Regions from separate parts of the Homo sapiens genome. Here regions 2 and 3 are each linked to region 1. The links are contacts of gene promoters, found by promoter capture Hi-C in blood cells and fetal thymus (Javierre and others, 2016). All regions are on one chromosome and are shown on one strand. Each heading gives the region's core, a stretch centred on a gene start or on the middle of the fragment in contact. The rest is flanking DNA. Distances are from core to core; before and after follow the strand shown. Region 1 holds the start of RPL7L1 (ribosomal protein L7 like 1). Region 2 overlaps BICRAL (BICRA like chromatin remodeling complex associated protein). Region 3 has its middle 14 kb from the start of TBCC.

Region 1 (4,100 bases), core at 695-3,194:
TCTACCTTTTATCCATAGACAGGAAAAATCACAAAACATTTAACTTTTTGCTTTTTTGTTTACTATTTAGTGAATGTCTTACACTTTGGTGACCCTTGTGTTTAGCCTCTTTACAAAGACACATGGTGAGGTGCTGAAAGAGAATGAGCCTCCCTCTTTCAGTGTGTGACCTTGAATGCTGGGTTGTCCTGACACTTACTCATCAGAAAGTGACCTGTGCCCATGGCACTCTTTCCGGTTGGACTAGTTACATGGCAACACGAGGCCTTTAGCTGCCACCAGTATCAGTATCAATAGTGCCAAAATCGAGAAATTGGTGCTAGATCCTTAGGATCAGTGATGAGTAAGCAGTCATGGTTCCTGCCCCCCCTAGTATCATGTGGAAGAAATATTAAAAATATAATAATGTCCTGAGGGAAATCAGACACTACTCTAGAGTCTTACTAGTCAGCCCATAGACCAGTAGCACCAGCGTCACTCTGAAGCCTGTTAAAAATGCAGAATATTGGCCAGGTGCGGTGGCTCACGCCTGTAATCCCAGCACTTTGGGAGGCCGAGGCGGGCGGATCACGAGGTCAGGAGATCGAGACCATCCTGGCTAACAAGGTGAAATCTCTACTAAAAATTCAAAAAATTAGCCAGGCGTGGTGGCGGGCGCCTGTAGTCCCAGCTACTCGGGAGGCTGAGGCAGGAGAATGGCGTGAACCCGGGAGGCGGAGCTTGCAGTGAGCCAAGATCGCGCCACTGCACTCCAGCCTGGGCGACAGAGCGAGACGCCATCTCAAAAAAAAAAAAAAAAAAAAAGCAGAATATCAGCTCCCCACCCGGCCTCCTGAATAAAAATCTGTATTTTAGTAAAATCTTCAGGTGACTCCTATTCACTATTAATGCTTGAGAAGCGCTGCTCTGGAGGTTTCCAGAGATGATAAGACTTGTGTTGTTTTTCAGGATTTTTAATTTTAAAAAAAATTTATTTCTTGTTTTTTTTGAGACTGTCTCGCTCTGTCGCCCAGGCTGGAGTGCAAGTGGCACAAACTCGGCTCACGCAGCCTCCGCCTTCTGGGACTTCAGGCGCGAGCCACCACGCCCAGCTAATTTTTTGTATTTTTAGTAGAGACGGGGTTTCACCATCTTAGCCATGCTGGTCTCCAACTCCTGACCTCAAGTGATCCACCTGCCTTGGCCTCCCAAAGTGCTGGGATTACAGGTGAAAGCCACCGGCCCGACCTACTGTTTTTCAGGATTCTATATAGACTGGGAGGGAAGAACGCAAATTCCGGGCGATGAGAGCTGCATAAGGGTTTTATTTTTATTCTTTTTTTTTCTTTTCTTTTCTTTTTGTTTTTTTGAGACGGAGTCTTGCTCTGTCGCCCAGGCTGGTGGGCAGTGGCGCGATCTCGGCTCACTGTAACCTCCGCCCAAGACGGGGTTTCGCCGTGTTGGCCAGGCTGATCTCGAACTCCTGACCTCAGGTGATCCTCCCGTCTCGGCCTCCCTCCCAAAGTGCTGGGATTACAGGCGTGAGCCACCGCGCCCGGCCTGTGTAACGGTTTTAGACGGGAAGGAAGCATGTTGTAGTTTTCGGTCCAGCAGTAATAGTAACAAACATAGTGCTGACAGACACTGCTAAACGCTTTATCTAATCTCCTGTAATCCTCGTAACGCCATTAGGTAGACCTATTATTACTGTACACCCATTTTATGGGTAATGAAGCCGCAGTATAGAGGGGTTAAATAACGTGTTCAAGGACGCATCGACGGGGCCAAGCAGACGGAATTGCAGCTACCTGCTTTACCACTCTAAGTCCTCAACAAACACTTCCACCTACACGTGAGAGCCAAAGCCATAGCCTCCAAGTTTTTCCACAGAGCGAAAATGTTTCGCGGAGTTTGCCTGTCTTCCTCCCCAGAGACGCAGCACAGCCGCGCCGGAAGTGCGGCGCCGTAGCTAGGAGCGGACGCCATAGGTGCATTGTGGGAAGCACTTTGCTGTCCACAGCCAGGCCGCTTGTGATGAAACTGTAACTTACAAGAAAAGGGCTGGGTTTTGAAAATAACACAGGCTCTAAAAACCCTAAGAAGCGGTGCAACTTTTGGCAGGAATCGGGGTTAGCGGGACCTCAAGGGCTCACTGCGGCTAAGTGAACGCTGACTGGTCCTCCAGCGTGAGCTAGAACAGACGTCTCTATGGTCAAGTAAACAGAGCGTGTGCTGTCTTCCCCATGTGGTGGGGTTGCGCATGATCAGTAGCTGCACCACTAGAAAGATGGCGGAGCAAGAGTGAGTGTTTGGGGCTTTGAATATCTGGAGTGGGGTCTTGAGTATCCGGTGCCATCCACGGTGTTTATGCCTTGGTGGCGGATTCCTGTGGGCTCTAGGAATAGAAAAGGCCACAGTTTACAAAGGGTGGGGGTGAGGAGGAGTAGCGCTGTGGCGGAGGAGGGAGGGGACCGCGGTCAAGTTCGGGTTATCTGGAGAGGCGAGGATTGACTTCAGGCAGCGGGCTGGAGTGCCACAGTTGAATTCACCCAGCCCGACAAGTGTTAACTCTGCAGATAGGCCTGCCCCCGCCCCAACCCCATAGATTCGTCGCTGCTAGTGCCTATGAAGAACTGTGGCCGTGAAAACCCTGTTAACTTATACGAACCCAGAGGCTAAAGGATTCATTATTTTCCGAGGCTTTGGGGATGAGTGACTATTAGGGATGGATTTATGAGGCCTGGAGTCAGAAACCGCAGGTTTCAGGGGAATCTTTCTTCAGATACTTGAAAACAGTAATGTTCCCTAAAGCCCAGGATATTGAATTGGTTTGGAAATCCATTGAATGTTCGTTTTCTTTTTTGTTGTTGTTTTTGTTTTGAGACGGAGTCTTGCTCTGTCCCCCAGGCTGGAGCGCAGTGTCGGGATCTCGGCTCGGTGCAACCTCCGCCTCCCGGGTTCAAGCGATTCTCCTGCCTCAGTCTCCCGAGTAGCTGGGATTACAGGCGTGCGCCACCACGCCCAGCTGATTTTTTATTTTTAGTAGAAACGGGGGTTTCACCATGTTGGTCAGGCTGGTCTCGAACTCCTGACCTCAGGTAATCCACCCACCTCGGCCTCCCAGAGTGCTGGGATTACAGGCTTGAGCCACCGAGCCCGGCCAAGTGTTCTTTTCTAAATGTTATCTCTGATCTCAATTTTCTGCATCAGGCAAAGAAAAATCCCTTTGGTTCCAGAAAATCTCCTGAAAAAGAGGAAGGCTTATCAAGCCCTCAAAGCCACCCAGGCAAAGCAGGCACTTTTGGCAAAGAAGGAGGTAATGGTGGGGAACCAAGAGAAAGTAATTAGAATTTTTATTTGGTGAGTTTTATCCCGCATGTGTTGGACTACATTTGGTATTGACGAGCTCCCCCCAACGGTTTGACAGACCAGGTATAGTTGTCTCTCAGTGTCCTTAAGGGGTTGGTTCCAGGACTCCCACAGATGCCTAAATCTCAGACTGCTGAAGTCCCTTATATAAAATGGTTGTAGTAGGCCGGGCGCGGTGGCTCACGCCTGTAATCCCTGCACTTTGGGAGGCCGAGGCGGGCGTATCACGAGGTCAGGAGATCGAGACCATCCTGGCTAACACGGTGAAACCCCGTCTCTACTAAAAATATAAAAAATTAGCCGGGCATGGTGGCAGGCTCCTGTAGTCCCAGCTACTCGGGAGGCCGAGGCAGGAGAATGGCGTGAACTCGGGAGGTGGAGGTTGCAGTGAGCCAAGTTCGTGCCACTGTACTCCAGCCTGGGCGACAGAGCGAGACACTCTCTCAAAAAATAAATAAATAAATAAATAACTGGTTGTAGTATTTGCATATAATCTATACTCCTTCCGCCTATGTAGTTTAAATCCTCTCTGGATTGCTTAATAGCTTTATTTATTTATTTATTTATTTTGAGGCAAGAGTCTCACTCTTGCCTAGAGTGGAGTGCAGTGGCACAATCTCGACTCACTGCAACCTCTGCCTACTGGGCTCAAGCAATTCTCGTGCCTCAGCCAACCAAGTAGCTAGGATTACAAGCATGCGCCACCACACCTGGCTAATTTTTTTTTTAACTTAATTTAATTTTGTTTTGTT
Region 2 (4,139 bases), core at 392-2,891, 89 kb before region 1:
TCCTGGAAAAAAATGGTTAAAATTGTAAATCTTACATATATTTTACCATAGTAAAAAATGAATTAGGCTGGGCCCATGGCTCACACCTACAATCCCAGCACTTTGGGAGGCTGAGGCAGGCAAATCGTTTGAGGCCAGGAGTTCAAAACCAGCCTGGCCAACATGGCAAAACTCATCTCTACTAAAAATACAAAGAAAATAGCCAGGCATGGTGGCACACACCTGTAATCCCAGCTACTCAGGAGGCTGAGGCATGAGAATTGCTTGAACCTGGAAGGCAGACATTGGAGTGAGCTGAGATCTTCCCACTGCACTCCAGCCTGGGTGACATAGCTAGACTGTCTCAAAAAAAAAAAAAAAAAGAATGAACACTTAAATATTTGTGGCAGATAGAGGTGTTATTTGCATATGGAAGAAAATTGCTTTAGAAATGAAATTTCAGATTACTGAAACTAAAGAGAAAGTATCTCTTCTTATCATGGTACCAAGCTTGAGGGTGCATAAGTCACCTATAGACGTAGAGATTGTAGTATAGGACCTGGGAATATTACATTATTTGCTCCCATGTTTACTGTTTTGTTCTAAGCCTTTAGCACAGCATTCAAAACAAGTTGAGCACTCAGTAAACATTTGCTGACTCAGTACTTGGAGAACCTAGGTAGAGTAGAATGATGGGAATCAAAAGGAAAACAGTATTCTGTTAGAGATCAGCAATATCTTACACTAGTAGAGGGATCTGTGAGAAAAAGAATCAAGACCATTGAATGTGTGGCGGCTTATAGCATTTGACATTCTGATCTGTGCACGTGATGAGAAAAAAAGTCTGATTACAGAACAGGGAAGGAGAGAAATAAGCATTGAGTTTCATTTTTTGTTTGTTTTTGAGACAGGTTCTCACTGTTACCCAGCCTGGAGTGCAGTGGTACAATTGTAGCTCACTGCAGCCTGGACCTCCTGGGATCAAGGGATTCCCCCAACCTCAGCCTCCCAAGTAGCTGGGACTATAGAAATGCAACACCATGCCCAGATAATTTAATTTTTTTTTTTTTTTTTTTTTTTTTGTAGAGACAGGGGTTTCTCTTTGTCACCCAGGCTGGCCTCAAACTCCTGGGCTCAAGCAGTCTTCCCACCTTTCCCTCCCAAAGTGCTGGGATTACAGGCGTGAGCCACTGCATCCTGCCGAGAAAATCATTTTTTATTTAAATAATGTCAAATGGAAGTATGTAGCACCCCCCCCCCACCTTCTTTTCCCCTTTCTTTCCTCTTTGAGTCTGCTGTCATTCCCTTTTTCATGAGTTTTCTCTGCTCCCCAAATAGGCTAAACAATAACCGTAAAGTGAGATTAGAGAAAATAAGAATGGAGTAGATGATGGAATTCAAAATAGCTGTCTACATTCTTCACTGAGAAAGATAGCTTTGAGTTAAAGGTGAGAGGAGCAAATCTGGGGAAAAACGGGTGAAACGGCATGATTTAAGTAGCATACCAGATGCGTTTCTGCATGGCATGGCTCTTGCTTGATGAATAATGTTCTGTATAGTAGAAGAGGAAAATACAGTGAGTGAAGGAGCTGGCAGAAGGTGGGCTGGGGGAGTTGGGGAAGAGTGAAATGAGTATGGAGAGGTGAGAGAGCTGACTGCAAAGGCATGTGGGGTGTGGATTTTAAAAGGAAAGCCCTGAGGTGGAAATCACTAACATGGTGCCTGGCTACAAGCAGAGGGAGCTCAGGACTTGACTGTGCTGGGGGTGGCCTGCCCTTTTGTAGTGCAGTTGAGGAGAGCTCAGGGGCTGTCAGAATGCTGTGTGGGAAGGTGGAGGATGAAAGAGGACCTGGGAGCAGCAACTTTGTTCTGGTTTGTTGTTTTCTCTTCCCTACCTCGTATGTACTCCCACTCAGGAAAAGATCCTGAGACCTCTCTGTACCAGATCCTCTTATACCCAGGTTCTCCTTAATCCCAATCAACTTTAATCTATAAAGTTACGATTTGTTTACTTATAAATTTATTTTTAATAAAGTTGTGAAACCGAACATGTTCTGTTTTTGTGGGTTATTTGGCTCTCTTATCTTGCAAACACATTAAACACTTAACATTACTTAAAATTAAAGCCCTGAGTCTGAGAATGTGAGAGAATAAGATATGAAAGATATTGCCTTTCTAGAAATGGTTTATTTCAGTTGAACCCAAATCCAGGACACTTTTTTTCATTAGGAGTTGAACTTTGTGTCCTGGCCTGAAATGGAAACATTTTCACAGGGAAGAAAATGAGGGGGAAAAGAAATAATATTTGTTAAACCTTCACCTTGTTTGAGACCCTGATGGGTTCTAATGGGTTTGGTTTTTGTTTTTGTTTTTTGAGATGAGAACTCACTATGTTGCACAGGCGTGTCTCAAACTCCTGGGCTCAAGCGGTCTTCTCACCTCGGCCTCCCAAAGTGCTAGGACTATAGGTGTGAACCACTGCACCTGGCCTCTGATGGGTTTTTAGTAAATACAGTCATGTGTCATTTAATCACAGGGATAGGTTCTGATGAATGCATCGTTAGGTGATTTCATTGTGTACAAACACCATAGAGTGCTCTTACGCAAACCAATATGGTATAACCTACCACACACCTAGGCTATATGATATAGCCTATTCCTCCTGTATTGTAAACCTGTACAGCATGTGACTGTACCTGGATACTGTAGGTAACTGTAACTGTATTTGTGTATCAACATATCTAAACATGGTACAGTAAAAATATGATACAAAAGAAAAAAATGGTGCACCTGTATAGGGCAGTTACCATGAATGAAGCTTGGAGGACTGGAAGTTGGTCTGGGTGAGTCAGTGAGTGGTGAAAGAATGTGAAGGCCTAGGACACTGTGCACTACTGTGAACTTAATAAACACCATACACTTAGGCTACATTAAGCTTATAAAATATTTTTCCTTCCTCAATAATAAGCTTAGCTTACTGTAACTTTTTTTCTTATGAACATTTTTGGTTTTTTTCTGAGACAGTATCTTGGTCACCCAGGGTTGAAGTCCAGTGGCGTGATCATAGCTGCAGCCTCCATCTCGTGGGTTCAAGCAGCCCTCTCACCTCAGCCTCTACTGAGTAGCTGGGATTACATGCATGTACCACCATGCCCAGCTAATTTTTTTTTTTTTTTAAATGTAGAGATGAGTTCTTGCTATGTTGCCCAAGCTGGTCTCAAACTCCTGGCCTCAAGCAGTCCTCCTGCCTCAGCCTCCCACAGTGTTGGGATTACAGGTGTAAGCCACTCCGCTTGGCCTAGATTTCATTTAACCCTGAGACTTTTTAGAAGTGCAAATAAGTATATTTAGAAATTGATGCTGAGTGTGGTGGCTTATGCTTGTAATCCCGCACTTTGGGAGGCCGAAGTAGGTGAATCACTTGAGGTCAGGAATTTGAGACCAGCCTGGCCAACATGAAGAAACCCCATCTCTACTAAAAATACAAAAATTAGCCAGGTGTGGTGGCAGGTACCTGTAATCCCAGCTATTCTGGAGGCTGAGGCACAAGAATTGTTTGAATCTGGGAGGCGGAGGTTGCAGTGAGCCAAAATCGTGCCACTGCACTCCAGACTGGGCGACGAGAGTGAAACTCTGTCACAAAGAAAAAGAAAAAAAGGAGAAAGAAATTGGCTGGCTGGTTTATTTTATTTATTTTTTGAGATGGAATCTCACTCTGTTGCCCAGGCTGGAGTGCAGTGGCACAATCTCAGCTCACTGCAAACTCCACCTCCCGGGTTTAAGTGATTCTTGTGCCTCAGCCTCCCCAGTAGCTAGGATTTACAAGCGCATGCCACCATGCCCAGCTAATTTTTTTTTTTTTTTTTTTTTTTTTTTTTTTTTTTTTTTGAGACAGAGTCTCGCTCTGTTACCCAGACTGGAGTGCATTGGCGTGATCTCAGCTCACTGCAAGCTCTGCCTCCCAGGTCCATGCCATTCTCCTGCCTCAGCCTCCCGAGTAGCTGGGATTACAGACCCAGCTAATTTTTTTTTTTTTTTTTTTTTTTTTTTTTGTATTTTTAGTAGAGACGGGGTTTCACTGTGTTAGCCAGGATGGTCTCAATCTCCTGACCTCATGATCCACCCGCCTCGGCCTCCCAAAGTGCTGGGATTACAGGTGT
Region 3 (3,635 bases), core at 47-2,546, 120 kb before region 1:
ACTCCAGCCACACCAAGGTCTGCTGTCACCCAGCACACTGTGTCTGTTCACTTCCATGTATTCGTGCTGCACTTTTTAAGGCACTTTGCCAGATGGTGCAGGTGTATTGGTGAACACACAGACTGGGCTCCCTCAGAGCTCAGAAGCTAAGTAAGAGATACAGATAATTACAGTGTGGTACGATTTACACTACAATGGAAATCTGGAGTGCTGAAATTATACAGAGTAACCTATCTCAGACCAGGAGAATCAGGACTATCTTTTGGGAAATATAAGCTGGGTCCTTATGATGGAGTCGGGGGGTCCAAAAAAAAAAAAAAAAGAAAAAAGAATTGAGTGGCATCTATCCAGGTGAAGGGTGAAAGCAGAGTCACATATTCATTCTTTCTTTCTGCAGGTATTTATGGAGTACCCACTATGTTCTAGGCACTTTTCTAGGTGTTGGGACTACAGCAGTGAACGAGAGAGACCAAAAAGTCTCTGCCTTCTGGCCAGGAGGCTAGGAGAGCTCCAGTGCTTCCAGCAACAGACAGGTCATGTGCAACAAACCTGGACATGAGACAGAGACGTGTCAGGCTAAAGCAATGTTCTCAACCCTAGCTGCTCATTGATATCTCGTGGAGGCTTTACAGCATCCTAATGCCCCTTGAATAAATCTGAATCTCTGGGAGTGGGGCCTTGGCATCAGTATTTCTTAAAGCTCCCCAGGTGGTTCTCATGGGCAACCAGGGTTATAAGTCACTGTGTCAGGAACTGAAGCACTTCAAAGCTGGAAGTGGAGATCAGAGATGAAGTTAGAGAGGTGAGCAGGGGCCAGCCCACCAAGGGCTTTGTAAATCCTGTTAGGAAGTTTCAGCTTAATCTTGAAGGCACTGGAGCTGCCAAAGGGCTTAAGCAGGATGATGAGAGCATCACATTATTTTTCCTTTTTTCCCCCTTTAACAAAGGATCAGTCTGGATGCTCTGTGTGAAGTGGATTTACATGGACAAAAATAAACAGATGTTAGTTTGGAGGCCATTGCAGGAGCCAGAGAGAAATGGCATTGGGCTGCGATGATGGGAGTAAAGATAGAGGAAAGAAGGGGGAGTGTCTGAGAGATTTGGAAGGAGACTAGACAGGACTCAGTGATTAACTGGAAGCAAGAGTTGTAGAAGTTCCAGTTTGTGGAACTGGGTCTGTGGTGATCTTGGTACCTGACAGAGTGAACCTGGAGGAGAAGGTTTGGAGCAAGCTGGTAGGTCCCTTTACACATGCTGCTTGCTCCTGGGTTCCTCTGTGATCCTATGCCTCATCTTCTCTGCATAACAAGGCACTTGCCTCCTACAAGATCTGTTTTATAAATTCCTCCTCTTCTGGGAAGCCTATCTGGGTTTCGCCCTCTGTTGGTTCTGGTTAGATGATTATGAGTGTGTGAAGTCAGTATCTGTTTACAGGTATCTCTTCTGCAGCTTGAGCTTCTCCAAGCAAGGATGTGTTTTATTCCATGCTGTGTCCCTCACACAGCACCTGGGACACAGGAGGTACACAGTAAGTGCTTGTTAAAGAGATGATTTATGGCCAGGTGTGGTGGCTTAACCCTGTAATCCCAGCACTTTGGGAGGCCGGGGCGGGTGGATCACCTGAGGTCAGGAGTTCGAGACCGGCCTGACTAACATGGTGAAAGCCCGTCTGTACTAAAAATGCAAAAATTAGCCAGGCATGATGGTGCACACCTGTAATCCCAGCTACTCAGGAGGCTGAGGCAGGAGAATCACTGAACCTGGGAGGCGGAGGTTGCGGTGAGCTGAGGTTGCGGTGAGCTGAGATTGCACCATTGCACTCCAGCCTGGGCAACAAGAGCAAAACTCCATCTCAAAACAAAAAAAAATTGGGAGGCCGAGGCACGCGGATCACCTGAGGTCAGGAGTTCGAGACCAGCCTGACCAACATGAAGAAACCCCATCTCTACTACTAAAAAAAAAAAAAAAAGTGGGTCAGGGGACTTGTTCTCATTTCTAGAGTAAGGGAAAGGAGTCCAGGGGCAAGGGATATTTGCTTAGCTGATCAGGAAAGAGTCCTAGTTAAAGAGGTAGGTGCCTTAGCTGTTGACTCTAAGAGAGAGTAATATATTGTCAGCTGTATAAATTGCCTTTTGAATGTGGTTTCAACATTATTATTATTATTACTATTATTATTATTATTAGAGGCAAGGTCTTGCTATGTTGCCCAGGCTGGTCTCGAACTCCTGGGCTCAAGCAATCTGCTCATCTCAGCCTCCCAGAGAGCTGGGATTACAGGCATGAGCCACTGTGTCCGACTGCTTTTAAATTACTTTCTTGTCAAAAGGTACATAAGACCAGGCTTGGGGCTCCCATCTATAATCCCAGCAATTTGGGAGGTAGAGGCAGGTGGATCACTTGACGCCAGGAGTTGGAGACCAGCCTAGCCAACATGGCGAAACCCGATCTCTACCAAAAGTACTAAAATTAGCTGGGCATGCTGGCTGGCGCCTGTAATCCCAGCTACTTGGGAGGCTGAGGCACGAGAATTGCTTGAACCTGGGAGGTGGAGGTTGCAGTCAGCCGAGATCACGCCACTGCATTTCAGCCTGATCACGCCACTGCATTTCAGCCTGGGTGATAGAGTGAGACTCTGTCTCAAATAAAAAAAAAGGTACTTAAATCTCTTAAAACTTTTCTGCACCTGTTCTCTCACGTCTCTTCCTATCAGTGAGATGTAGTGGTGCTAATAAGTGAACAGATCTGAGTTTAAATTCTGATTAGTTGATAGGGCACCGGTGGCTCACGCCTGTAATCCCAGCAGTTTGGGAGGCTGAGGCTGGCGGATCACCTGAGGCCAGGAGTTCAAGACCAGCCTGGCCAACGTGGTGAAACCCCCATCTCTACTAAAAGTAGAAAAATTAGCTGGGCATGGTGGCACGCACCTGTAATCCCAGCTACTTGGGAGGTGGAGGATCTCTTGAACTTGGGAGGTGGAGGTTGCAGTGAGCTGAGGTTGCACCACTGCAATCCAGCCTGGGCAGCAGAGCTGGAGTGCAATAAATAAATTAATTAATTAATTCTGATTAGTTGTGCAATACTAGCTCTGTGACATTGGAAATGATATTTAACCTCTCTGAGCTTGGTTTCTTTCAACTACAAAGTGCAGATAAAGAAATATATACTTCTTTCATCTGTTGCATGAGATAATTTTAAAAAAGAAAGAAATATTTACTTCTTGGCTGGGCACAGTGGCTCATACTTGTAGTCCCAGAACTTTGGGAGGCTGAGGCAGGAGGATCACTTGAGCCCAGGAGTTCAAGACCAGCCTGGACAACATGGTGAGACCCTGCCATCTCTATAAAAAATACCAAAAAAAATAGCGAGACATGGTGGCACAGGCCTGTAGTCCTAGCTACACAGAAGGCTGAGATCGGAGGATGACTTGAGCCCAGGAGGTCGAGGCTTCAGCGAGCCATGATTGCATCACTGCACTCTATCCTGGGTGACCTTGTCTCAAAAAAAAAAAAGAAAGAAAAAGAAATACGTACTTCTTTCAGGATTATCGTGATGTTAAATAAAGTGCTTACAGTATGGAAAAGTACCAAGTATTGGGCCAGGCCTACAGTAGCTCCTCAAAAATGCCAGGTCCTTCT

What was found. Contacts are between HindIII fragments. The CHiCAGO score rates a contact against its expected background, and 5 or more counts as called.
Region 2: a fragment that was not itself captured here is called in contact with the fragment with the promoter of RPL7L1 in region 1 in 2 of 17 cell types (naive CD4 T cells and megakaryocytes); the score reaches 5.9 in naive CD4 T cells.
Region 3: a contact is called between a fragment that was not itself captured here and the fragment with the promoter of RPL7L1 in region 1, in 1 of 17 cell types (naive CD4 T cells). The highest score is 6.5, in naive CD4 T cells.

The regions. Positions count from the first base shown.
Region 1 is chr6:42,877,672-42,881,771 of GRCh38, forward strand. It overlaps RPL7L1 (ribosomal protein L7 like 1), which reads left to right and starts at 1,945. Exons shown (of 6, transcript NM_001366481.3): 1 at 1,945-2,280; 2 at 3,190-3,295. The coding sequence starts at 2,240. RefSeq lists enhancers at 957-1,914, 1,657-2,126, 1,915-2,871, 2,147-2,206. The HindIII fragment of the contact is 10,267 bases long and covers 1-4,100 here.
Region 2 is chr6:42,789,295-42,793,433 of GRCh38, forward strand. All of the region lies in intron 1 of BICRAL (BICRA like chromatin remodeling complex associated protein), which reads left to right. It overlaps LOC401261 (a long non-coding RNA gene), which reads left to right. Exons shown (of 2, transcript NR_134654.1): 2 at 1,122-2,029. Among named protein-coding and RNA genes, the nearest start is that of BICRAL, 9.3 kb to the left of the region's middle. The HindIII fragment of the contact is 2,308 bases long and covers 488-2,795 here.
Region 3 is chr6:42,758,407-42,762,041 of GRCh38, forward strand. It overlaps a transcript of BICRAL not described here. Among named protein-coding and RNA genes, the nearest start is that of TBCC, 14 kb to the left of the region's middle. The HindIII fragment of the contact is 5,436 bases long and covers 1-3,635 here.